Regions from separate parts of the Homo sapiens genome. Here regions 1, 2 and 4 are each linked to region 3. Evidence: promoter capture Hi-C in 16 types of primary human blood cells and fetal thymus (Javierre and others, 2016). All regions are on one chromosome and are shown on one strand. Each heading gives the region's core, a stretch centred on a gene start or on the middle of the fragment in contact. The rest is flanking DNA. Distances are from core to core; before and after follow the strand shown. Region 1 overlaps COL18A1 (collagen type XVIII alpha 1 chain). Region 2 has its middle 17 kb from the start of SLC19A1. Region 3 holds the start of PCBP3-AS1 (PCBP3 antisense RNA 1). Region 4 holds the start of SLC19A1 (solute carrier family 19 member 1).

Region 1 (3,899 bases), core at 1,400-3,899, 380 kb before region 3:
TGCGCTTCCTGGGAGCCCCAGCGTGCTCGGGCCAAGGGTGCTGCCGCGTGGGCAGTGCAGAGACCCTACCAGCGTGGGGACCAGGGAGGTCTGCAGGGCCCGTCCTGAGAGGGAGCCTTTCATGTCCCCCTCCCCATCCTGAAGCACACAGCCTCCCTGCCACAGTGGGGGCCGCTTCTGGGCCCAGGGGACGTTGCCCCATCACCGTGTGGCCTGGCCTTGTTGCTGGCTGGACAGTTGGGGGCAGGAAGAGGAGGGAAAGGGGGACTCTTTAACCTCCTGGGGGCAGGGGCAGCCCAGAAAGGACCCCAGCAGATCCCTCCTCTGTGTCCGGGAGTAGACGGGGCCCCTGAGCTGTGCCTGCCCCATTCAGATTCTGCTTGCTATGTGCACCTGGCAGCCTTGGCCCAGAGGCCCTATCCCCGCAGGGTGAGGTGCTCTGTCCTCCTCTGCTGTCCTCCCCATAGTGCCGAGGGGAAGCAGCCTTGCTGTTTGCTCTTTGGGCTTTGGGACAGGGTTGGTGGGGGTTAGCAGCTGTGCCGGACCTGGAGGTGGGGGTGCCTGCAGTGGAAATTCTGGTGGACGCCCACCCACCAGGCTCCGTGAGGGATGACGAGCTTGGTGATTCCCCTTGAGTTTCAGGCCAGTGACCGTTTCTCTCAGCAAAGCCCAGAGCCTCTGCAGACCCTGTGTGGGGCCTGGGGAGTGGCCGGGGGGCCACAGACAGGGCAGGGACAAGTGCTGACAACAGGTGGTCCCAGGAGTAAAGCCCACGTGGGCTGGAATGGAGGGGCAGGGAGGGAGGGAGGGAGGGAGGGCTGCAGCGGGGCCTGGCTGAGCCTGAGGGGGGCACAGGAACTGCGCTGGGGGGGCCTGGTGTGTGCAGGAGTGGGGGCCCTTGTGGATGCGCCCCAGAAGCATAGGGCTGGAGCTCTCCGAGGCAGGGGCCGTGCCCGCGGCTGTTGGCATCTCGTAGGGCTGGAGCTCTCCCAGGCAGGGACCGTGCCCACGGCTGTTGGCATCTCGTAGGGCTGGAGCTCTCTGAGGCAGGGGCCGTGCCCACGGCTGTTGGCATCTCATAGGGCTGGAGCTCTCTGAGGCAGGGGCTGTGCCCGCGAATGTTGGCATCTCAGGGCTTAGATGTCACCCCCAGGGCAGCTGGCACTGCCACAAGCAGCCAGATTCCTGGGTCCCACTCATCCTCCGTCCCTGGAACACCCAAATGCCCAGCAAGCACCAGCCGCCTTGCAGGCAACCCCCCCGGAGCCACACCCCACCTGGCTACTGTTCCCCACCAAGCATGTGGGTAGGGCAGCCTTGCAGGAGCCGTACTGACTGGAGGGACCCGGGTCCGGTGTCCTGGAGCCCCGGGAGGCTCCAGCACAGCCCACCTTGTCCTCCACTGCAAGCCCACGGAGGCAGACAGGACAGCGGTGGGCTGGGAGGGCTGCAGCCTGTGGGAGGGGAAACGCCAGGCCTGCACACCTGACCCTGCCCTAGCCCTGCCAGCCCGAGACTGTCTGGGATCAGCTGAGCACTGTGAGCAAGCTTCAGCCTCAGGGAAGGTGCCGGTCTCCTGGGAGTTGGGGCACAGCTGCATGGCTTGGGGGCTGGGGTCCGAGTGGGGCTGTGAGGGCGAGGAATTTCTGCAACTGCAGCTGGCCCGGTCGGTGGCACAGCCTGATGGGGACTTTTCACTGAACATCTGGACAGCTTGGTAGCGTCCCCGTGCGAGGGAGGCCGTGTCCCGTGCAGGGTCCTGGGGGACTCCATCAGCGTTCCTGGCCTGCATTGCCTCTGGCCAGGGGTGGGCCTCAAGCTTTATCAAGGAGCCCCTTCCCAGGTGTGGCCTGGCCGGGAGGGTCCTGCCCCCTCTTCTGGCCTCTCAGCTCCTCCCCAGCCCAGGCTCCTCTTGGGTTAGCCCCAACTCCTGCCGGACCCCTATGTTGGGCTGGACACTCCCAGCCCTGGGTGAGGGGCAGGAGGAGGAGGGGGAGCCCAGCCTGACCCCTCGGGCAGACTTCGAGGCCCCGAAAGTGGGGGTGCTGGGCTGTGATCCGGGCACCAGAACAGAGCCCTCGAGGCCCACAGAGGTCCCTGGCTGCATCTCCAGGGATCAGGGAGTATGTGCCCCTGAGGGGAGGGGAGCTGGAGGGGTCCTGCTGCCTCCTGCCCGGCTCCATCTCCAGCGCCCCCTCCACCTCGTCCTGGGCACTGCCCTGTGTGTCCACCCCGCCGGCCCACCTCGAGGAGAGTGTGGGGGACAGTGCAGCCGTGCTGGGGCGTGGGGGGCGCTCAAAGGGAGGGTGAACCCTGTGGTCAGCACACAAGCAGGGACCCTGTGGAGGGTTTTGCTGTGTTGTGGGCTTGTCCCTCAGGTCCACGAGGAAGGGAGTGAGGCCCCCTCACACGGGAGGGCCGGGGTGGGGTAGGGAGGCTCCCTTGCTGCAGCTGCCAAGAGTGAGCGAGCGGGGCTTGGGCTTGGGCTGCCCGGGACACTGCCTCCAGGAAGCCCCCTGGGCTGTCTCAGTGGGACTCTGTGAGTGACACATGGAGCTCAGGTCACAAGGGCTGTGGGAGTGTCACCCCACAACAGCAACGGGTGCCTGGCCCTCTGGACTTTGCTCTCTACACCCCTCCTGAGCTCTCACAAACCCTGGCCCCTGGGACCGGAGGCAGGTGATGTTTCCAAGGAGTCCTACAGGCAAGCATCCTCTGACCTGGGAGCTGCGTATTGTTCCCGTTTACAGGTGAGAAACTGAGGCCTAGGAAGGACAGACACGTGTGCGTGCCGCAAGTGTGGCTAGCAAGGAGGGAGCCTGGAGGAGGGCCCAGCAGCCTGGCCCCAGAGCGCTCTTCAGCATCGCAGCAGATGCAGGACAAGCAAGCTCCCAGCCGGGGAGCACCAGGAGACCAGCAGGCATCCACCCTCGTGGTGCAGGCCATCTGATGAGGGCAGGGACCAGTGCCGGGATGGATAGTGCCTGTGCACAGAGTGGGGCGCAACTGGGCACAGCTGCCACCGGGGTGCTCGGGAGGCAGGTCCACACACACGCCGGCCAAGTCGCTCATCTCAAATGCACGAGTCCCGTGATCTTGGAAAGTGGTGCACAGGCCCCTGGGCTGGGGCTTCCTCTGCCTCCACCCCCATCACTGGACATTCGGAGGTCAGTGGGAGGCCACGGGAGTGCACGTGAAGGTCATGTCACCATGATGGCCCCGAGGGGCTGCTCCTTCATCGCTCCTCCCTACCCCATGGGCCAGCCACTGGCACACAGGTGTCCTTATATGGTGCTTACCTCTTGCTCCTTTAGTCAAATGCAGAATTTGAGAAAATGTCCCTTCTCCTTAAAATGCTTTGATTTGTTTGATGTTTCCATGTAACTTTGGTTTAAGAAGGGAGAAGACCACTCTGGGAAATAACTCATGCTTATCTCTCACCGCTTGGCAACCTACAAATATTTTTTCGATGATGCTGGCTAAGCTTCTCGTAAATTCTCCATGCCTCTTAGATGCACCAAGAGTGACTCAGCATTTAACTCCTACTGGAGTGTCAAGGGCCCAGTGCATTGGGTGCAGTTGTCTGTGGGTACAAGATCTTGTGTGATTCTGAACTAAGCACAGACAGAATGAAAAGCACAGCACTCCAAACAGGGCTTCCTGCAGGTCCTTTTACGTATATTTGGGTTTTTGTATATATCTAAGGTCAAGCTAGTGGACATCTATCACTTCAACCAGTTACCGTTGTGAGTGTGGTGAGAAAACTTAAGATCTACTCAAGTTTGAAGTGCCATATGCGATACAGTATTCTAGCTGTAATCACCATGTGTACATTAGACCTCTAGAACTTACTTTTCCTGCATAACTGAAACTTTGTACCCTTCGACCAACAGTCACAT
Region 2 (5,727 bases), core at 3,012-5,511, 280 kb before region 3:
GGAAGATCTTGGATGGGGAGAGAGGCGGGGTGGAGGGTGGCATGGGAGTCCTGTGGCCGGGGCTTCCTGGGGGCCCTGCACAGCAACCGGCCTGCACGTGTCTCCTGGGACGGCGACTCAGATGCATGTGTCACCTGGGACGGCACCTCAGACGCATGTGTCTCCTGGGACGGCGACTCAGATGCATGTGTCTCCTGGGACGGCGCCTCAGAGGCCTGGCTACTCCGAGAGGCCTCTGGACACCATGTAACCTCCCCTGGGCTCAGCCCTGGCCTGGCCAGTGCCCTGGTACCAGGACTTGGGCACCAGCCACTGCCTCCCCACGTGTCAGCTCCTTGCACAATGGCACCCGCTGCATGGAGCTGCCCAGGACTCAGGAAGAACGGAGCTGGAGGCTGGGCCCTGGGGCTGCTGAAGCCCTGGCAGCAGGAAGGGATTTGAGATAGAGAACCCGAGGCCAGAGCACTGGGGCTCAGACAGCGGCCCGGGAGATGGGTCTTCCCTATCAGTGGAGACAGACCTTGGCCTCGTGACACCCTGGAGTCCCCGGCTTTGACCCCGTAGCCCGTGCCACATTCTCCTGAGGCTTCTCGTCTGCTCTGGGTGAACCAGGTGCTGGCCTGTGCCTTGTGGCCCCAGCCTGGCCCTGAGCCCCGGGTCCTGCACACCTTGCTGGTAGTCTCTGTCACAGAGACGGTTGGGCCCGGAGGCTGCTGGCATGTGAGTGTCCGCCTGGAGTGTCCTGCTCCAGCCACAGCCCTGCAGTGGTTCATGGCCAGAGCAGAGGAGCGAGGGCTGGGGGTTTGTGCAGTGACCAGGACCAGGGTGCAGGGGCCCAAACCAAGGCCACTCACTGCCCTGAATTGAGCAGAAGGGATGCTCTGAGGCTCCCGGGGAGCCTCAACCCTCCACCACACTCAGACAGTGTGCCTCTCTTGGACCGTGTCCTGCGCTCTGGTGACTCTCGGGGATGCTAGTGAGGAGCTTGTCCCGGCTCAGGCTGAGCCCTCTGCTCAACTAACAGCACAGACGCAGCCCAGACAGTTGCGGAGGGGAAGCAGGTGTGGGGGTGGCCGTGCCCTCGGCACTCGGACTTGGCCTCCTGAGCCCAGTGGCGTGGGGAGTGATAGTGTGATGCTCACCTTTGCCTCCTGCGTGTCTGACGGAATCATTCCTGTTTAGACATGAGCTCCATTCTTCGGAGGGCATGACCAGGAGGCCACCTATTTGGGGATATTTTTAGAGTCATGCCATCCAAGGCAGTCTGTGCCGAGTGGCTCCATATTCAGACAGCGGCGGCATCGTCTCCAAGCCTGGGCTCAGTGGTTAGCACGTCCCGTGCTGACGAGAGACTGGAGGCGGCTTCTGAAAACCCTTCGGGGCCAAGGCTCTCTAGTCGGACTCCACACGGCTGGTGACAGATCAGGCCAGACAAGTGCATGACACCCACCATCCAAGACGACAGGCTGAGACCCCCCAAGTCCAGGTGGGCCACGGCTGGCTGGACCTCAGCTGGGACTCGGACATGCTGGCTCTGCAGCCTGGCCCCAGGGTGTGGGCCTGCAGCTCTGGCTGCTGAGAAATCCCCAGTGGGCCCTTCAATCTTTGAAGGATTCGCCCCATTGTCACTGCAGTGAGACCCCCTGAGAACCCGGGAAGGCAGTGGTGCCGCAGAAGGGGTGCTGGCCGGCGAGCCTTGGGGATCTTCCCAGGGATGCAGCAGGTGGGGCTGTGACCAGGCTGCAGAGGGTGTTTCTTCTTCGTATGTGGCCAGTGTGACTTGAGTTCAGCCCCAGAAATAAATGTGTGAGAGGACTGCGTTTGGTTTGAGCGAGGGCAGGCACAGGTAGGGAGCGGAGCTGCTACAGGAAGCCCTGCGGCTGGGAATCTGAGGGAGTCGGGGCAGCCTTGTTGCCAGGGCAGGACAGAGTACGGCCACCTGGTTGCTTGGAACAAGGTGGAGCTGTGTTCCAATTTCTCAGCACACAGGGAAACACATTTCAGTTAAATTGAATTTTCTTTTTCTTTTTTCTTTTTTTTTTTTTTGAGGTGGAGTCTGGCTAGGTCCCCAGGCTGGAGTGCAATGCTGCAATCTCAGCTGACTACAACCTCTGCCTCCCAGGTTCAAGCGATTCTCCTGCCTCAGCCTCCCAAGTAGCTGGGATTACAGGTGCACACCACCACGCCCAGCTAATTTTTGTATTTTTAGTAGAGACGGGGTTTCACCATGTTGGCCAGGATGGTCTCGATCTCTTGACCTCGTGATCCATCCACCTCAGCCATCCAAAGTGCTGGGATTACAGGCATGAGCCACCGTGCCTGGCCTAAATTGAATTTTCATGTGGAAGTCAATAACTACATAAATTTGGGAATGTCAGTGGCAGAAATCACAAAGGAAAAGATGAGTAGATGTGCTTGCATCCAACCTAAAAACATCTTTAAGTCAAAAAGCACCATGAAGAACTGCCAGCCCCTCAGCTGTGTGGAAACATCGCAACGTTGAGGCCGGGTGAGTGTCGGTGTCCTGGGTCCATCAGGGAATTGCCCCCATCTGTGTATTTAGGTCGGTGAGGTGTCACCACGCACCGACAAGGAGACAAACACACACACTGAAAATGGCCAGGGGTGTGGGCGAGTCCCCCATGGGGACCAGCGGTAGGCAGCATCCTCCGGAGACCACGGGAAGGCCAGGTCTTCCAGCTCCAACTTGCAAAGATTTGCTAAGATTTATATTTTTTTCCAGTTGTTTTTCAGTCTTTATTTTATTGAGGCCCCTGCAGGTACCTGTGGATTCTGATTTGCAGCTCTGTCCAGGGAGCATCCGGCCAAACCTGGAGCCCGGGGCGTGCGGATGGACCTCTGGACGTGGGGCCACACCTGTGCGCGAGTTTTCTCACTTACTGGCTCGGAGGTGGTTCCACATCAGCACACGCAGAGCTTCCGTGTTCCTTATTAACAGCAGTGAAGAACTAGTCATTCAAATGCGCATCATTCCCTCACACAGGGTATTTTTAAGAGAAATTGCTAGACATGGAGTTTGCTGTCAAAATGGCCCCCAGTGTGACAAGCAGATTTATTTTTACTGTGACATCCATTTCTGATGATGATGGGGGCAGACAGCCCTCCACATGGGCAGTGGGCACAGCTGAACCTCAGGCAATCGGCCACAGCCCCAGAGACAGGATCCGCATGTGAACAGACCACCAGCAGGGGCCAAAACGTCGGAAATGCAGCTTACTCTGCAGAAGGCAGCACGTCACACCCCCCAGCTCCCAAAATGTAGGAAACTGGCTCGTGCCAGGTGTGGCTAGAACGTGGGCATAGGGGAGCCCTGGGGTCACTCATGGAGCATAAACCGTGCAGCCTTCCTGGGGAGCGGCCTGGCCCTGAGAGGTGGGGACGCCAGGGCCCGGCAAAGTCCTCTCCAGGATCCACCCCCCAAGGACTCCTCCCACAGCCACACAGGGCCCACACAGGGACGTGCCCACGGCTCAATGAGGCCAGCAGGAGCGGGACACTCCATGTCCATCACCTTGGGAGGGTCAGGCAAAGCGCACTGGGTGCCCACTATGGCCCCCACAGGAGCTAATCCACCATGCAGCAGGGAGGGGTCTTGGAGACGCTATGTGGGAATGGGATGTGGCACTGGCACCCCCGCTAGGGTGCCCACGGTGGCGCCCACAGGAGCTAATCCACCACGCAGCAGGGAGGGGTCTTGGAGACGCCATGTGGGAATGGGATGTGGCACTGGCACCATGGTAGGAAGCGAAATCAGAGTCCAAACAAAGAGACACACACTCCTCCAGAACAGGAGGGAAGAGACAACACCAGCAAGGACGGCCGCACACGGCGGGGCAGGGGAGCGGAGGTTGGAGTTGGGAATGAGGATTTGAAGGACCAAGAAGAGGAATGACAAAGGTGAGGTGCCTTGCGGAGTGGTGACAACAGTGGCCAAGTGCCAATGAGGAGGACGAACCCAATGCTGGGCTGAGGCCAAACAGACAAACAAGAAGAGCAGCACCCAGGCTTGGAGCTGAGGGAGGCCCGAGCCCCGGAGAATCGGCGCTGTCCTCTGAGCTGGCCTCTCTGATGCTGCTTTCTCCATGATAAAGAGGCGCTCTCACGGCTGGCGGAGGGAATGCTCATGGCCTGGCTCAGCCTCAGCTGCTGCTCTTACAACTGCTGTGGTCATTCCCTGCCCTTAGAAACGAAGCTGCTTCCCAGCCACCCATGTGCAAAGGAAGAAGGAAAGAACGAGAATAAACGACCAAGCCTAATCCACTTTCCCTGCCTTGCGAACCACAGTATTTTCTGCTGCCGTGCACTTGGAGAGAGCAAATGTCACCGAGTCTTGTTGAGAAGACAAGAGAGGCAAGAGGTCTGAACAACACCCAGCTGGGGGCAAATGCCTTCAGACAAGCACAACCAAAGTAAAACAGGAACGAGCAATGACCCTAAAAGATGTGCTAGAAATAATTGACCAAGTATAAAATAAATATTTGAGTATTCTATTGCAGTAACTTGCCATGCCATTCACTTGTAATAAATGAACCTCTTTCAAGTTAGAACATGTTGCGTTTGTGCAGCCAGGATTAAATATGGTAGGTCTGGGGCCCGGAGCGTCTCCCGGTGTTCCCACTCCTGGCCTGGTGGGTTCCAGCTGCAAGTGCTGGACTCTGCATTGGAAGTGAGGGTGAGGCCGGGCGCGGTGGCTCATGCCTGTAATCCCAGCACATTGGGAGGCTGAGGTGGGCAGATCACCTGAGGTTAGGAGTTCGAGACCAGCCTGGTCAACATGGTGAAACCCTGTCTCTACTAAAAATACAAAAATTACCCAAGTGTGGTGGCATGCACCTGTAGTCCCAGCTATTTGGGAGTTTGAGACAAGAGAATTGCTTGAACCCAGGAGGCGGAGGTTGTAGTGAGCCAAGATCATGACACTGCACTCCAGCCTTGGGGACACAGCGAGACTCCATCTCAAAAAATAAATAAATAAATAATAAATAATTAAAAAATTAAATAAAAAGTGAAGGTGGGAACCTGCACAGCAAAGAAAGATAAGACTTCCAGGCTGGGTGCAGTGGCTCACGCCTGTAATCCCAACACTTTGAGAGGCCAAGGCGGGCAGACCACAAGGTTAGGAGATCAAGACAATCCTGGCCAACATGGTGAAACCCTGTCTCTACTAAAAATACAAAAATTAGCTGGGCATGGTGGCGGGCGCCTGTAATCCCAGCTATTCAGGAGGCTGAGGCAGGAGAATCACTTGAACCCAGGAGGCGGAGTTTGTAGTGAGCTGAGATCGCGCCATTGCACTCCAGTCTGGCAACAGATCAAGACTCTGTCTCAAAAAAAAAAAAAAAAAAAGACAAATCCAGAAATGCACACTAACTCCAAAGGGTTTCCTTTTAATCTTAAGACAGTTATCAGTCAGAGAGCTCAGGCATGAACCAAAATCTATGTTTGTGGAAAATGATACACAGACAACACTCACCACACAGGTGCATCACACTGACACGACACCACACGCATTCACCACATCGGCATCGTAAAGGGAAGCCCCAGTGACTACGGAACATTTGTGACTGTCTCTGGGAAGTTTTTCAAAAGGCCAGTTCTGAAAACTTCCACTAACAGCCTGGGAGGAACAGAACCTAGACTCACTCTCCCCCATGAAACAACTGAAAAAAACAGGCAAATATGTGAAGCAAAATGTTTTCAGAGCCT
Region 3 (6,611 bases), core at 2,249-4,748:
ACCATCAGATCTCGTGAGAACTCGCTATCATGAGAACGGTATGGTGGAAACTGCCCCCATGATCCAATCACCTCCCGCCAGGTCCCTCAACACGTGGGGATTGTGGGAATTACAATTCAAGATGAGATTTGGGTGGAGACACAGCCAAACCATATCAGCAGCCAGCGAGGCTCTCTGTGGGCAGCTGTGGGCACACCCAAGGGAAGGAGTGGGCACCCCCATCCAGCAGACGGAGACACGGCCTCAGGCCATGGGCAGGCAGGAGATACCCCCACCTCGCGGTTATTAAATAACTATGTTACATAGTAACTGTGGGGCAGTAGGGCTTTCATTCATCAATATGTAGCATTTTTATGTTCACAGTTTTGGACTTTGCTTGCGGGTTACTTAATGCCATCAGATGGAAAGCTGAGAGAAAGCCTGTGGCCCCCCAGGCATCTCTGTAAAGAAGGCAATGCCAAGCTGAGGGTTGCTTCCCAGGCCTCACAACAGCACAACCTTAGAACCTAAAAAATCCAGCATGCTACTTGTGCATGCCAGGCTCAGAACTTTCCCACGTTGGCCCCTGGCAGCTTATTCACAAAGACTGTCTGGTTCCAGCCAACTGCCGAGGTGCTGCCCATGTCAGGAGAGTGGGTGGAGGAGGGGAGAAGGGCTTCTCAGGACAGAGGGTGTTTCTGCTTCACCAGGATTCCAGACACGGGCCACCCCCCTGAGCACGACTGGATGGTGCCCAGGCCTAGTGTATGCGCCCATGAATGTGAGTGGCCAGTGCCAGTGGCAGAGGCCAGGCCTAAGGGGCTAAGAGCTCTGGAAGGATTGTCTGTTTCTGGGCAGACCACAGGTGGCTGCTGTGGCCCCATGCAGGGCAGGGTCACGGAGGGACCACCTTGCTGGGAGGAGCTTGCAGTCCTGCCTGCCTGGGCAGGAGCTCAGGGAACACCTGACTCCCTTTTAAAGTCATAAAATCATATTTGAATATGAAATCTTCTGTTTTTTTAAATGTTGGAAACAAATTTGGACCATGTTGGCGATTGACTCACCTGTGCTTGTCACCACCTCTGAGGATGGCGTGGATGTTATCTGGTCACCAGAAGGAAAGCCAAGCACAGGGAAGGCTGGGGGCTGAGCCAGGACATGTCCTGGGTAGGGAAGGGAGGAGCTGGGCTGGCCAGCACCCCCACAGGCTGAGACTGCCACCGATTCACGAGTCCACGGGGCCCAGGAGTCTGGGTCTACGTGGAAGTTGTCAAGGGCCCAGACTCCAAGCAAGGCCAGGCCAAGCAGGCCTCTCAGGAAGATGCCGCACAGTGCCTGGAGCCCGGCTGGCAGCTTCTTTTCCTGGCAGTGTCGTGTCCTGTCACCAGCCGTCAGAGCGCCCTCCGACCAGGGCGCGTGTTAGAGCAGGGACTGGAAGTTGTGAATGAATGACTAAATGCTTTCCTAGAGGCTGACCGAAATTTGTGATTAGCTAGGATGTCCATTTCCAAGGCACAGCATGTGCTGTGACTGTCTAGGGGTGGCGTCCCCATGCAGCTTGTGCTTTGGGAGGGGCCAGCTGCCTCCTCGCCACTGCCCAGCATAGCTTGTCCCCGTGCCCGCCAAAGAGGTCCTCGTGCTGGCCTCACAACAGAAGACGGCCACAGCCCTGCTCTCCCCAGGCCACCACGTCCACGAGTGCTGCACTGTGAGGGTGCAGCCCAGCGCCTCAGAGGCAGCAGCACCTGTGAGATGGCGTGCAGATGGAAGTAGGCCAATAGACTCCAAAGGAAGCACCACTGAAAAATCAGAGGCGTCTCTCAGAGGGGGCCCACGAGGGAGGTGGTATGAAAGGTTTTTAAAAGGACAAAGCAGACTTCGGAGCTGCCTCTAGAGGAGAGCAGCAGGTGAGTTCCGAGTTCACCTGGCACGCTTTTCGGCAGAGCCCAGGAATGCCCACTTCTGAGCGCTGAGTGCACAACCCAGCTCGGGAGGCCTGCGGCAGCAGGAATGGGGAGGCACCGTGAGTCCCTCAAAGCGCTGCTGGAAATGTCACTCTGCGCGGTGTCCACCCGTGCTCGGGGTGGGCAGCGCCACTGAATGACGCGGGCAGCTTGGGAGGCCGGTTCGCGAACGCCGCAGCAGCCTCTGCTGACACGGGGGCTGCTCCCCACTCACAGAGCCACAGGTTCCTGTGGGTTCATTTATGAGGATGTAGGAATCATAGGAGTTAGGTACATCTTTTCCTGAGGTGAGAGCCAGATGAGGGGAGCCAAGACAGAGAATAGCCCACGTCTGCCCTGGGCCCCGGGGGCGGGGCCTACACAGGCTCCCAGGAGTGTGGGTGGGGCCTGTTTAAACTTCATGCCCCGGGACCTGCCTGGGAGCCTCCTGCACAAGACTCGCCCCACTCCGGAGGCTTAGCAGCACCGGAGCTGCTCTGTGGCCTGTTGGCAGAGAGGAGTCTGGTGCTCCTGTGCACGGGGGTCACAGCAAAGCCAAGTGGCCGTAGCACCTTTAACACTGGCCCCGGGTCTCTACACCTCCCTGCCGGCCGTCAGCTCCTGGCCGCAGCCGGCACTGACCTGGAGCACCTTAAGGAGCCCCTCTGCAAGTCCCTGTGCATCTGAGAGGTCAGAGAGGCAGAAACACAGTTCCAGGGTTCAAACCTAATATGCCTCAGCATTCTGGGCACTCACATGGTGTGCTGGGCCTGTCCTGCCACATGGCCCCTGCGTGAGGAAGACAGAGCCTGGGCGTGGCCCCACATCCCTGTGAGCTGCCCATGGGCCTGGACCCTGGCTCTGGCAGACTAGGCTGCATAGCAGATCAGCTTCTCCTGAGCCATTTTCATCCAGGCCACACCTGCCAGCTTGGGCCAGGGACAGGCAGACCCTGGGCCCAGGGTCTTGAGCTTGACCCGCAGGAGGTCTGGGCCTTATGCCCTGGGGAGAGGAGAGCGCAGAAAGCCAGTGTCACGGCAGCCCCAGGGGAACAGGCCCCAGGCCTGGCGGGGTCTGGATCTCAGTTCCACAGGGGAAGCTGTGGCCGCAGGCATGGTAACCTCACCAAACAAAAAGCTGCCCATCTTTCAGAATATGAGCAAGAAGTTTGTGAGTCCTTGATCACCAGAGGGGCAACGTGGGGCCCGAGATGACAAGGAGTCCAGGCCACCCACAGTAGCTCCTCCTTCAGCCTTACAGAGGGGCTGCCTGGTCTGCTTTCCTGGCCGTGGGTTGCCCCTCTCTGGGGGCCGATGTCAGCAGACCTGTGGGGGATACAAACAGAAGGAACCTTGGACCCCTTCCTGGTACCTCCTTACTCATCTGATTCAAACCCTCCCAATTCTGCCTCCAAAGTGGACCCTGACTCTCCCCAGTCCTTACCGTCCAGTCTCCAAGACCAGTCCACCCAGGGAGCGGCCAGAAGACAGCCCACCTGCGCCAGGCCTGTGTGTGCCTTTCCTGGCATCTGGAATGGGGTTTGGTGCTTGCTGCCTGTAGCCAGGCCTGCTGGTCATGCCTTCCTGCCCTGCTGGGCCTCATCTCCGTGACAACGTCTTGGCCTTCCTGCCATCCTTTGTAAGTGCTGCCTGGTCTGGGATCACGTGTGCCGGCTCCTCTGCTTGCAGTACTTGGCTGCACTTCCCAGTATATTCGTTAAAATGTTGTGACATGAGAATTAGCATATGACACGTACGTAACGTGAGCTGCGGAGCATAGCTTTCTCATGAACAGCCGTGACCCCAGGACCAGGCTAAGCGAGATGACCCATGCTGCCGTGGGTGCTTCCTCTTCTTTACCGTGATCCTGCATTTTGTTTTCTCATCTCTTCTCTTTAAAATAATTTTATTTTATTACACATGATTGCTTGTTTCTGAACTCTTAGAAAGTGACATCAGTCCCTACATAGACTTCCCAAACCTGTTCTGTTTAGTCACACACAAGGTGTCTTAGGTTGGTATGTGTTTCTGGGCAGAGCTGCAGTTTGTGTGCCTGGCTGCATAGTGTTCCAGTGTGTGAATAGGCATCATTTATTTGTTTTTCCAGCAGGGTCATGCGGCTCGCTTGCCATTGTGAGTGATGCTTCCGTGGACATTCCTGTGTGTTTCTTTTGGTGCACACATGAGGTGTTTTTGGTTTAAGGAAGTGGAATTGCTGCATCATAAAGTCTGTGAAAGGTGAACTTTCAGGAACTTTCAGGACCATGTCAGTTTTTGTTTCAAAGCGCGGGTACCAATTCCCATCCCCCAGCAGCGTGTTAGCGCCACGGATGATCTACAGTCCACCAACATTCTGAATGTTTGCCAATGCAGTGAATGTAAATAACGTTTCACTGTGGTCTGTATCTCCCGTTCCACATGCTCTTGTGCTGTGACTTTGATGCACCTCCCGCCAGGGAGGGGATCGTGACCCTCCCTTTAATCTGGGCAGGCATGTGCCTCCAGCGGAAATGATGTTATGTGACATCTGTGTGCAAGCCACAGGCAGCAGCACAGCGCTGCAGAGCTCCCAGGATGCTGGCTCTTGGAGCCTAGGGATGGCGCTGTGAGAACAGGCCACGGCGCCCTAGCTTCAGGTTATAGGGCATGGCTACGTGCCTGTGGAAATTCTCCTGCGGGCGGTTTCATGTCGAAGGCCTACCTGTAGCCCTGGGTTGTCTGCCTCTTGGGGGTAGCGGCTGTGTGGAATGCCTGCGTTCTGGATTTGGCTGGCTGCCTCCTCTGGCATGGTGCAGAGCCCACCTGCAACCCCATATTTGCCCTGGTAGGTCTGAGGTGCGATTCCACTCAGATTTATTTTTCCTGTGAGGCGAGCGAGCTTCCTAGGTGGCACTGCACGTTGCACCGCATGGCATGATGAGGCGTGTGGTCTGGCCGCTCCTTCACTGGTGCTGAGACTGAGGATTGAGCTTAGGGGGTCAGCCTGATCCGCCACTGCTGGGTTCCCCACCAGCCTTGCAGCTTGCTGTCAATATTCATTGATGGTCATTGCCTGGATGCAGTACACATTAGGGGCTGCAGAACGGTGATTTTCTAATTGTGTTGTTCTTTCTGTACTTATTAGTTGGGATTCATCTATGTGGAATAACGTTTGCCTCATCCACTAGGGCTGTTTGGTTACCTAAACTATGGTTCATGCCAGAAAGGCAGGATAGATGCTTCATTCTTTGCACTCAGTTGTTCTCACTGCGATGAGTTGGTTTCTGGAAGCCCCAGTGTTGTCCTGTGAATTTGTGTCTTTCCCTGCTTTTCTCTCCCTGTGAAGCATCATTGTTAACTGGTGGATGTTATACACACAGTGGAGTTTGGCCAGTGCAGCTGCCATTTCTTTACTCAAACTGTTCTGTAGTTTTTGGGCTCCCCTCGCTTTCTGATGTAACCACATCAGTCTTGGATGGCTTTATTGCCTTCTGTCGTATGTGTTCCCACCTTACCTTTTATATTTTCTTCCACAGACCACCTGGAATCAAACTCTTTTGGGAGACCTGTTTTTGTTCTAATAATAATAATAATAATACTATTTGGGAAGTAGTATTTAGAGACCACAGCGTGAGTATTAGGAGTGCTTATTGCAATTGGGTTGTCATTGATTTTTTATAATTTAGTGAACAGAAATAAGAAATGTTTGTAATTTTAAAAGAAGAGAAAATTAAGATAAATATTTTTAAATCATATTTAAGATTACATTATTTTAACTTAAAAATTTAAAACTTATACTAGTTTTTCTTTTCTCTCATCATTACCATGATTACTTATTTGTTTTAGCCTAAGTAAATATATAACAGGTTTGGAGAATAATACCAATATTATGATTAATGACTAAATTTAGAGCAATATATTTCTTTGCACTTTTTTCTGTCTGTATAATATATTCCCTTGAGGATATGCAGTCAGATTCCTGTGTTTTAAGGTCAGTGCCTACAGTCCTTCTCTCTGTGGTTATAGCTTCAACTGAAATTCCTGCATTTGATTATGTAAAATACAAACATTTACATGATTCTAAAGTCAAAATTATTGCAAGGGCTATTCACAAAAGTCTCACTTTCCTCCCTTTCTCTCCATTCAGTTCCCTTCCTTCTCCTGTAAGTAGCTTTTAAGTTTTTTAATCTTTCCATTTTTTCTTTTCGAAAACATGAACAAATGTGTGCATACATGAATTCTTCAACTTAGTAAACTTTTCCTCCATGTTCATATTTCTTTTCACTTTTAGGAAGGTTTGTATTTTTTTTCTTGGCTTTATATTATCACTCTCTATATAATTCACATAAACCCCTCTTTTTACATAATTTCTATTGACTTACTGTTATAAGCAGTATTAAAATTAGCCAGAAGTCTCTTCTTCCTCCTCTCCCACTCCTAATTTTTGTTTGTTCTCCCACCTCTTCCTCCCATTTCATTAGTGTATTAACTTTATTTTAAGCACATTTAATGGTTACATATTATCCTGTCACCCTTAACTCCATCATTTAGTCCTAGTTCAGTAGTTAAATGTGTTTGACACTTACCACCATACCTTATGACAAAGCTTCTCCAATTATTTCGTGGTTGGCCCAACCCCATTTTATATTATGTTCTTCAGGATGGGCTCATCAGAAAAATATTTCCTGTGTTCTTGTGGAGTCATATCTTT
Region 4 (6,460 bases), core at 3,127-5,626, 290 kb before region 3:
CCCCGCAAAACGAGGCCCAGTGCCGGCCTCCTCGCCACTCAGGACCAAACGCCACCCTGGAGACGAATGCAGACCCCAGACCCATCCTCACCCCGTAGCACCAAACTGGGAGCCACCCACACCTGAGCTGCTCCGGAGTCCCCCAGGCCAGGCTGTCACCACCTCCAGGGTCTCCGAGGCTGAGGGAAGTCTCCAGCCACATGGAGTGATTTAAGTGCCAATCAAAACCAAGTTAATTAACTAATTGACTTACTTTATTAACTAAACTAACAAAATTTAGGGTTTGGGGCCACACTAGACTCATGGCACTGCTGGGCAGTACCTGTGGCGGTCAGGGGGCACACCTCACCCCACAGGCCTGAGGGCAGCCCACGTGCCTGCTGCTGCTCTAGCGGCACCCAGGTGGCCCAGGGAGGGCACAGGCAGGAACGGACGCTGCTGGAGGCCGGGGTCACACCACAGGTGGCCAGCGGCGGGTGGCTGCAGGTACCAGCCTCAGGTCCCCATCAGCCGCGTGCCCTGGCAGGAGGGCGTGCAGGCCAAGCCCACAGTGAGGGAAGGGCAGAGGGAAAAGCAGGTGTCCTTGAGGGGGCTGAGAGCAGCCAGGGTTGAAACACGCGTGGGAGGGAGGATGGGATGGAGCCGAGGCCCAGCCCCTGAGCCCAGGGACCCCAGCATCCCCGGCGGCAGGTTACCCTAGACGAAAGCAGCTGGCAGGAGCCATGAGTGGACCTGACACGTTCCAGATGGAGCACCCCAGACCACAGGACTTCATCCACGAGGCAACATGCACCCAACCTTGGGGACCATCCCGCCAGCACCCCCGCCCCACACGGCCAGGGCACGTGGTGGAGCAGCAGCAGCACGAAGCACACTCGAGGGCGTGTCTCTTTCAGTCCTGATTCTGCCCAGGAGAAAGGCTCCTCCGGTGCGGGCAAGGGCACGTCTCACCACCACAAATCGTGCCTTTCAGCTGCGGGGCAAAAGCCTGTCCACTTATCAGAATCATGTCTCCAGGTGCCACGTGGCCCTGGTTTTCCATTAAGGCCTCGGTGTAAAGTTCTCCTTCAAGTAAGTCAAAAGTGAACTGCCATAAACAAGTGTGTCAGACGCCCACACCAAGCCAACCCCGTGAGGCCAGGACCTGGCCCTGGTCCCCCACAGGTGCACCTCACGTCTGTATCAGCTGACCTCTGCTCCCGGAGGCCAGGCCTGGCAGAGTGCACGTGGAAAGGCCATCTGCTGCTCAGGTGGGGTGGGGATGCAGCGCATGCAGAGGGCAGCTGAGCAGCCTTGTGGGGCGGGGTCGCCGTCCCATCTGCACTGGGCTGACAGTTGGACAATTGTGCCTCGCCACAGGGCCGGCTTGGGAGGGTGGCAGGGGGTCTGCAGAGGGTCTGGATTTGAGAAGTCTCCTCCAACCCTCCAGCAGGGGCTCAGAGCATCCCTCGATGTGGGGCCAGCTTTGGGGGTCCAGGGACCCCTAGGAAAATCTGCCCCAGGCTCTCAGCATTCAGTCTTCACGTATCAGAGACCACTCAGGCTGGAAGTGCTCCCTGAACCGCCCCCAACCTGACACACAGGCTTAGGAAAAAGGTGGCCTTCAGGGACCAGAGAGAGAGACCCTCCCCAGGCCACTTAGGCAAAGCCATCAGCATCATCTGGGGTCCCGTCTTGACACCTCTACACACTCATGTCTGTGACAAAGGAACATAGGTGATGGCAGGGAAGCCCTTAAGAGGCAGAGGCTGGTGGGCTTGCAATGGGGGCCGCAGGGAAGAGGGGGAAGGGTTAGGGGAACCTCGAGGTTTCCGGAGCTCCACGGCAGGGCACAGCTGGGAAGAAGATGGGACCAGCACCCTCCATTGGAGGCAGCCAGGACCCTAGAAGTTCTCAAAGGGCCAGGATGAAAACAGCCGGCCAGGCAGGAGGAAGCGCAGGCAGGGGCCACTGCCAGGCCGAGGCAGATCTGACGGTCGCCTGCCTCGGCCTCACCTTCCATGCCTCCTCAGGGCCTGTCAACAGCTGGGAAGATCAGTGCACAAAGGTTGGGCTCCATCACCAGGGACCCTGATGCCCAGAGAGGCCACGGGTAGAGCTGGACATACCTCAGACCGCACCCACTCCTCCCCACTGGGAGACCCATTTGGCCCTGGGACTCCCTGTCAAGTTCACTTTCCCACCTGTCAGCAGGTTTAGACAGGCGCACCGATCCCCAGACAACCAGAGCAACCAGATCGCCGCAGACAACGGGGAGCCATCAGGAGCTGAACTAAGCCCAGGGTCTGCGCCCACAGTCCATGGCCGCAGGAGTCAGATCCCCACCCACAGGACCCCCAGGGGCCCGGGAGCCCTGGGTACTTGGGCCCCCTGTTCTGAAAGGTGCCACCTCCAGAAGCGACCAGAACATTCCTTCCTTGGAGAGACAGCCAGAGTCTCCGCCAGCAAGGGGCTGCTGCTGGTCTTAACAGTCAGCCTCTGCTGCCAGCATACTCAACTTATGTGCCGTGAACGTAGCCCACTGACAGAGGCTTGGCCATCACGGCCCAGACCACCTCCAAGAGGAAAGATAGGGAACTTGGTCACCATCATAGAAACGCAGCCCCAAGCCAGGGGACGCCTAGACTCCAAGTGTCCAGACCCCAGCCCAGTCCCATACAGCTTGAGGCCTCTTCCCGGCATCTGAAGGAAGTCCCCGACCAGACAGGAGGGCCACGGGGAAGCAGAGAGAATCCCTGCCTTCAGGAGAAGGTTGTAACAGCCCCTGCAAATCCCCGGCCCCACTGTCCACAGTGACCAGCCCCACCCAGGCCCTGTCCTTCCAAGCACCAGAGAAGGCCAGAGACCCGCAATCAAAACACAAGCAAACGCCACCTATCATTCCGTGTTTAAACCAGCTCCTACTCTGGAAGGCTAACCAAGAATGTTCGTTATGTTTTTTAGAACGCCTGCTAGTTTAAAAAGAAGAAGAAGAAAGCATTGCACACCCTCCCACCCCTGTTCAGATGACCAAGTTCAGGGTTCCTAACAGCATAATTAGACCCTCCGGCTATCACTGCTGCAGGCCCAAACACCCGAGAAGCACTCTTTCTCATCTGTGTCCAGCAGAGATAACTGTACTATCTGGAATTATAAAAATCCACCAAAGCCCCTTCGGAAAGAAAGCAATTAGCAATTGCAACAAGCAGTGCACAGGTGGCACCCAGGCAAAGGCGGCCAGTGAGATGCAGCCTGGCTCCCAGGCCTGGACAGGGCAGGCAGGTGCACTGGGCCAGAGGCACCTCGGCTCTGCTGATTGAATCTGGGCTGTGCGGGGATCCTCGGGTCTCCGTAGGGGGAGGCCACCTCTTTACAGGGCGGCCAACAGGCGCCTCCAAGGACTTTATCCCACCTTCCCTCTGGATGCATTCTGGATTTCGGGGCCAGCTTAGTTGGCCTGTGTCCTGAGGCCAGGCAGGCCAGACTCCCCAGGACAGGAGTTTCCGATGGACAGGACCCTAGGGGGATGGCTTTCCTGCTGTAGCGGTGTTGGAAGGACCCACTCGGGAAAGGCTCCAGCGGCTGTCCAGGCTCTCTCTGAGACGCCTCGGGATTGCTCCGCTGGATCCGCACCCACAGCTGCTCCAAGGGGAAGTTGCACCTACAAAGCTTCTGGCACAGGAGACAATGGTCTGGAGATGTGCCAGGGGCCCGCCCCACGCGTGGCTGGCAGGGTTCACCCACCGGCTGGCCCGTCCCGAAGCAACACGTGCCTGGGCGCGAACGCCGGATCCACGCTTTCCTCCAGACCCGGGGGTGGGACTTGGCGCCCCAGGATGACGCGGAGGGCAGGCTGGGGGCCGGGACTCCCCACCCCATTCGCAGGCTGCGGCGGAAAGCGAGCGGCGGGAAACCCGCTGCACAGCAACGGTTCTGCCAGGCGCCCGGGCCACCGCGACCCCCGCGGAGACCCCGGCCCACGCCCCGCACCCTCCCCAGGGCCCCCCAGACCCCAGGCTGCAGACCGCAGACCCCGGCCACGCCCCGCACCCTCCCCAGGGCCCCCCAGACCCCAGGCTGCAGACCGCAGACCCCGGCCCACGCCCCGCACCCTCCCCAGGGCCCCGCGGACCCCAGGCTGCAGACCGCAGACCCCGGCCCACGCCCCGCACCCTCCCCAGGGCCCCGCGGACCCCAGCGCCAGCCCCCACACTCACCTCACAGGGCCCTGCAAACCTCGGCCCGCGCCCCGCACTCACCCCAGGGCCCCGAGACACCCCGCAGCCCCCGACACGCGGCCCCGTGGCCCCGTTCCCCACCGGTACCTGCGACTCGGCGGGGCGGCTGCCCTGGGGCTCCCGGACCCGGCCCCGCGCACGCGGACTCCGGGACTACAGCGCCCACAAGGCGGCGCGGCGGGCGCGCGGCTGCGGGGTGGGCGGGTCCGTCCCGCCGAACGCGTCCTGAGGGCGGGGCCTCGCGCGTGGCCGGGCGCTGCGGCAGGAGCGTCCCCACGGGGCACCCTCCCACCCACGGCCGTCTCCCAGCCCCGGCGCCGGCCTCTCCCCACCCGGTCACCGCCGGGGTCACGCGGCCCCTCGTGCTGCGGCCCTACCCCTGGGGCCGCCCCCTGACCCCGACCGCCCCTCGGGCCCCCACCCCCGCCGGCGTCAGCATCCTGGGGTGCCACTCGCGGAGGTGTCGGTCCCTCGGGCGGGCACCCTGCCATCCCTCTCCCCCGCGTTCTTCCCACCCCCGGTCCCCTCCTGACCCCCCCTCCTCGACGAGGCCTTGTGCGTTTTCCTTTTGGCACCCTGGAACACCTGCATTCCTGGCCGCAAGCTGGATCCGGGACGCGGGTCGGGCCCACGCGCCCTCAGGGGTGGCCCTGGGCCGCCTTCGTGGGGCTCCAACAGGGACACGCACAGCCTGCTCTTGGGGACCGCACGGCCCCGAACTCGGCGCCCCCGGGACCCCGCCGCCCGCCCTCCTGCCTGACCGTGACCCGTACGGGCTTGTACCAAGGAGCAAGCCGGATCCAGGACGTGGCCCGGGGCCACCAGTCCCCATCCCAGCAGGGACAGCCCGGGGGAGACCCGCGCAGGCCTCGCAGACGGCAGCGCAGTCACACTCAGGAAGGGGGGCCTGGGCCACTCTCCCAGGAAGGCGTGGGGCTGCGGCAGACAGCACCGCCGAAAGCCCAAGGCCTGTGCAGGACACGGGGAGAAGTGGGGGGCCTCAGGGTCACTTTCCCCTGGAGTTACCCAGGGCCTGGCTATGGGGAGGGAAGCCAAGCCGAGGGCTGTGGGGGCCCCAAGGCTAAGGAGGAGCCAGGAAGTCCACTGCACAGAACAGAAGGGGACGGCCACCGTGGTACCCACAGCTCAAGAGTGCGGGTCCCAGGCGAGGGGTGAGTCTGGGGCAGCAGCCCCTGGAATGTACCCCTTCCGGAGTGTAGACAGCACAATCCGCGACCTGCCTCCTGGTGTTGCGGGGGTGCTCTTGGTCTCCCGCCCACCAGCAGGGCAACCCCACCAGGAAGCCAACACAGGGCCCTTGCCCTAAATGGCCGCCTGCCCAAAGCTCTGGCCTGGGCCTTCTTTCCAGAGTCCTGAGTGTAGCAAGCCACACGAACAAATCTCAAAGGAACTTAAAAAGGATTTGTTGGCTGGAAATGGGGGATCTGGGGTAGCTTGCAGAATTTAAGGGAACACTACAGGATGGAGCGCCTCACCTGGAGGGACCCCCTGCTTTGTGGGAGCCCTGGCTCTCTCCCCTGTACTGGCCTTCTCCACGGGTGGGCAGAACCTGGCCCTGCTGGAAGACAGGAGGGGCAACGCGGAGGAGGAGGGGCCCTTCCTTCCCTCCAGGCAGAGAGGAGCCAGCCATGGGGCCAGCTCGCCAGGGCAGCCTGCTCCCTTTACACGCAGGACAGGCCAGGAAGCCGAGGGGAAGTGGGGATGAACAGCAGCGGGGCTCCTAGACCCCTTCCCACAGAAGGATGGCTCCCACCCCCTTCCCGCCTGGAGACAGCAAGGCAGGGAGCCACAGCCCCAAGGGGACCCCGCAGGACCCACAAAGACCAGTCCCTCACCTGTCTCTCCGGTCAGGTGTAGCCGAGCGAATCCGCCCCCGGCCGCGAGGGGCCTGCCCAAGCTGCCCTCGGGTCCCCCTGCGTGGCAGGAGTCCTGGGAGTTCCCCAGCCACACAAGGCCCAGGTTTCCTGCAGGAGCTGCTTCGGAGTGGGGAGGTAGGGCTTCTGCCACCAACAGCACTTGGCAGTTGTAATCTAGAGGCAGCTGCTCTGAGGGAAGAGCCAGGAGACTCGTGAAGAACTTACAGAAACCTCCATTGAGGACTGCGAGGAGTGGCCACAGACAGTGGGGCGTGGGCTTCCAGAGGGCTCCACCCAAAATAGAGATTTACAAACGCAGGTGACTTGGGAGTGACACTGGCATCTGGGAATGGATCCTGTGCTTGG

What was found. The method cuts DNA at HindIII sites, captures the fragments that hold promoters and counts their contacts. A CHiCAGO score of 5 or more calls a contact.
Region 1: a fragment that was not itself captured here is called in contact with the fragment with the promoter of PCBP3-AS1 in region 3 in 3 of 17 cell types (naive CD4 T cells, naive CD8 T cells and total CD8 T cells); the score reaches 6.3 in naive CD4 T cells.
Region 2: a fragment that was not itself captured here is called in contact with the fragment with the promoter of PCBP3-AS1 in region 3 in 1 of 17 cell types (naive CD4 T cells); the score reaches 5.6 in naive CD4 T cells.
Region 4: a contact is called between the fragment with the promoter of SLC19A1 here and the fragment with the promoter of PCBP3-AS1 in region 3, in 16 of 17 cell types (naive CD4 T cells, fetal thymus, naive CD8 T cells and 13 more). The highest score is 25.7, in naive CD4 T cells.

What each region holds. Positions count from the first base shown.
Region 1 is chr21:45,457,309-45,461,207 of GRCh38, forward strand. The region is part of intron 2 of COL18A1 (collagen type XVIII alpha 1 chain); the gene reads left to right. Among named protein-coding and RNA genes, the nearest start is that of MIR6815, 19 kb to the right of the region's middle. The HindIII fragment of the contact is 1,665 bases long and covers 1,818-3,482 here.
Region 2 is chr21:45,556,782-45,562,508 of GRCh38, forward strand. It overlaps a transcript of SLC19A1 not described here. Among named protein-coding and RNA genes, the nearest start is that of SLC19A1, 17 kb to the left of the region's middle. RefSeq lists an enhancer at 3,564-4,273. The HindIII fragment of the contact is 9,158 bases long and covers 1-5,727 here.
Region 3 is chr21:45,832,921-45,839,531 of GRCh38, forward strand. It overlaps PCBP3-AS1 (PCBP3 antisense RNA 1), which reads right to left and starts at 3,499. Exons shown (of 3, transcript NR_038876.1): 1 at 3,366-3,499. The region is part of intron 4 of PCBP3 (poly(rC) binding protein 3); the gene reads left to right. RefSeq lists a silencer at 1-82 and enhancers at 2,605-3,112, 4,183-4,726. The HindIII fragment of the contact is 12,994 bases long and covers 1-6,504 here.
Region 4 is chr21:45,538,064-45,544,523 of GRCh38, forward strand. SLC19A1 (solute carrier family 19 member 1) reads right to left here and starts at 4,377. Exons shown (of 6, transcript NM_194255.4): 1 at 4,305-4,377. RefSeq lists silencers at 3,811-3,870, 4,221-4,530, 4,571-4,650 and an enhancer at 4,505-5,017. The HindIII fragment of the contact is 3,738 bases long and covers 3,647-6,460 here.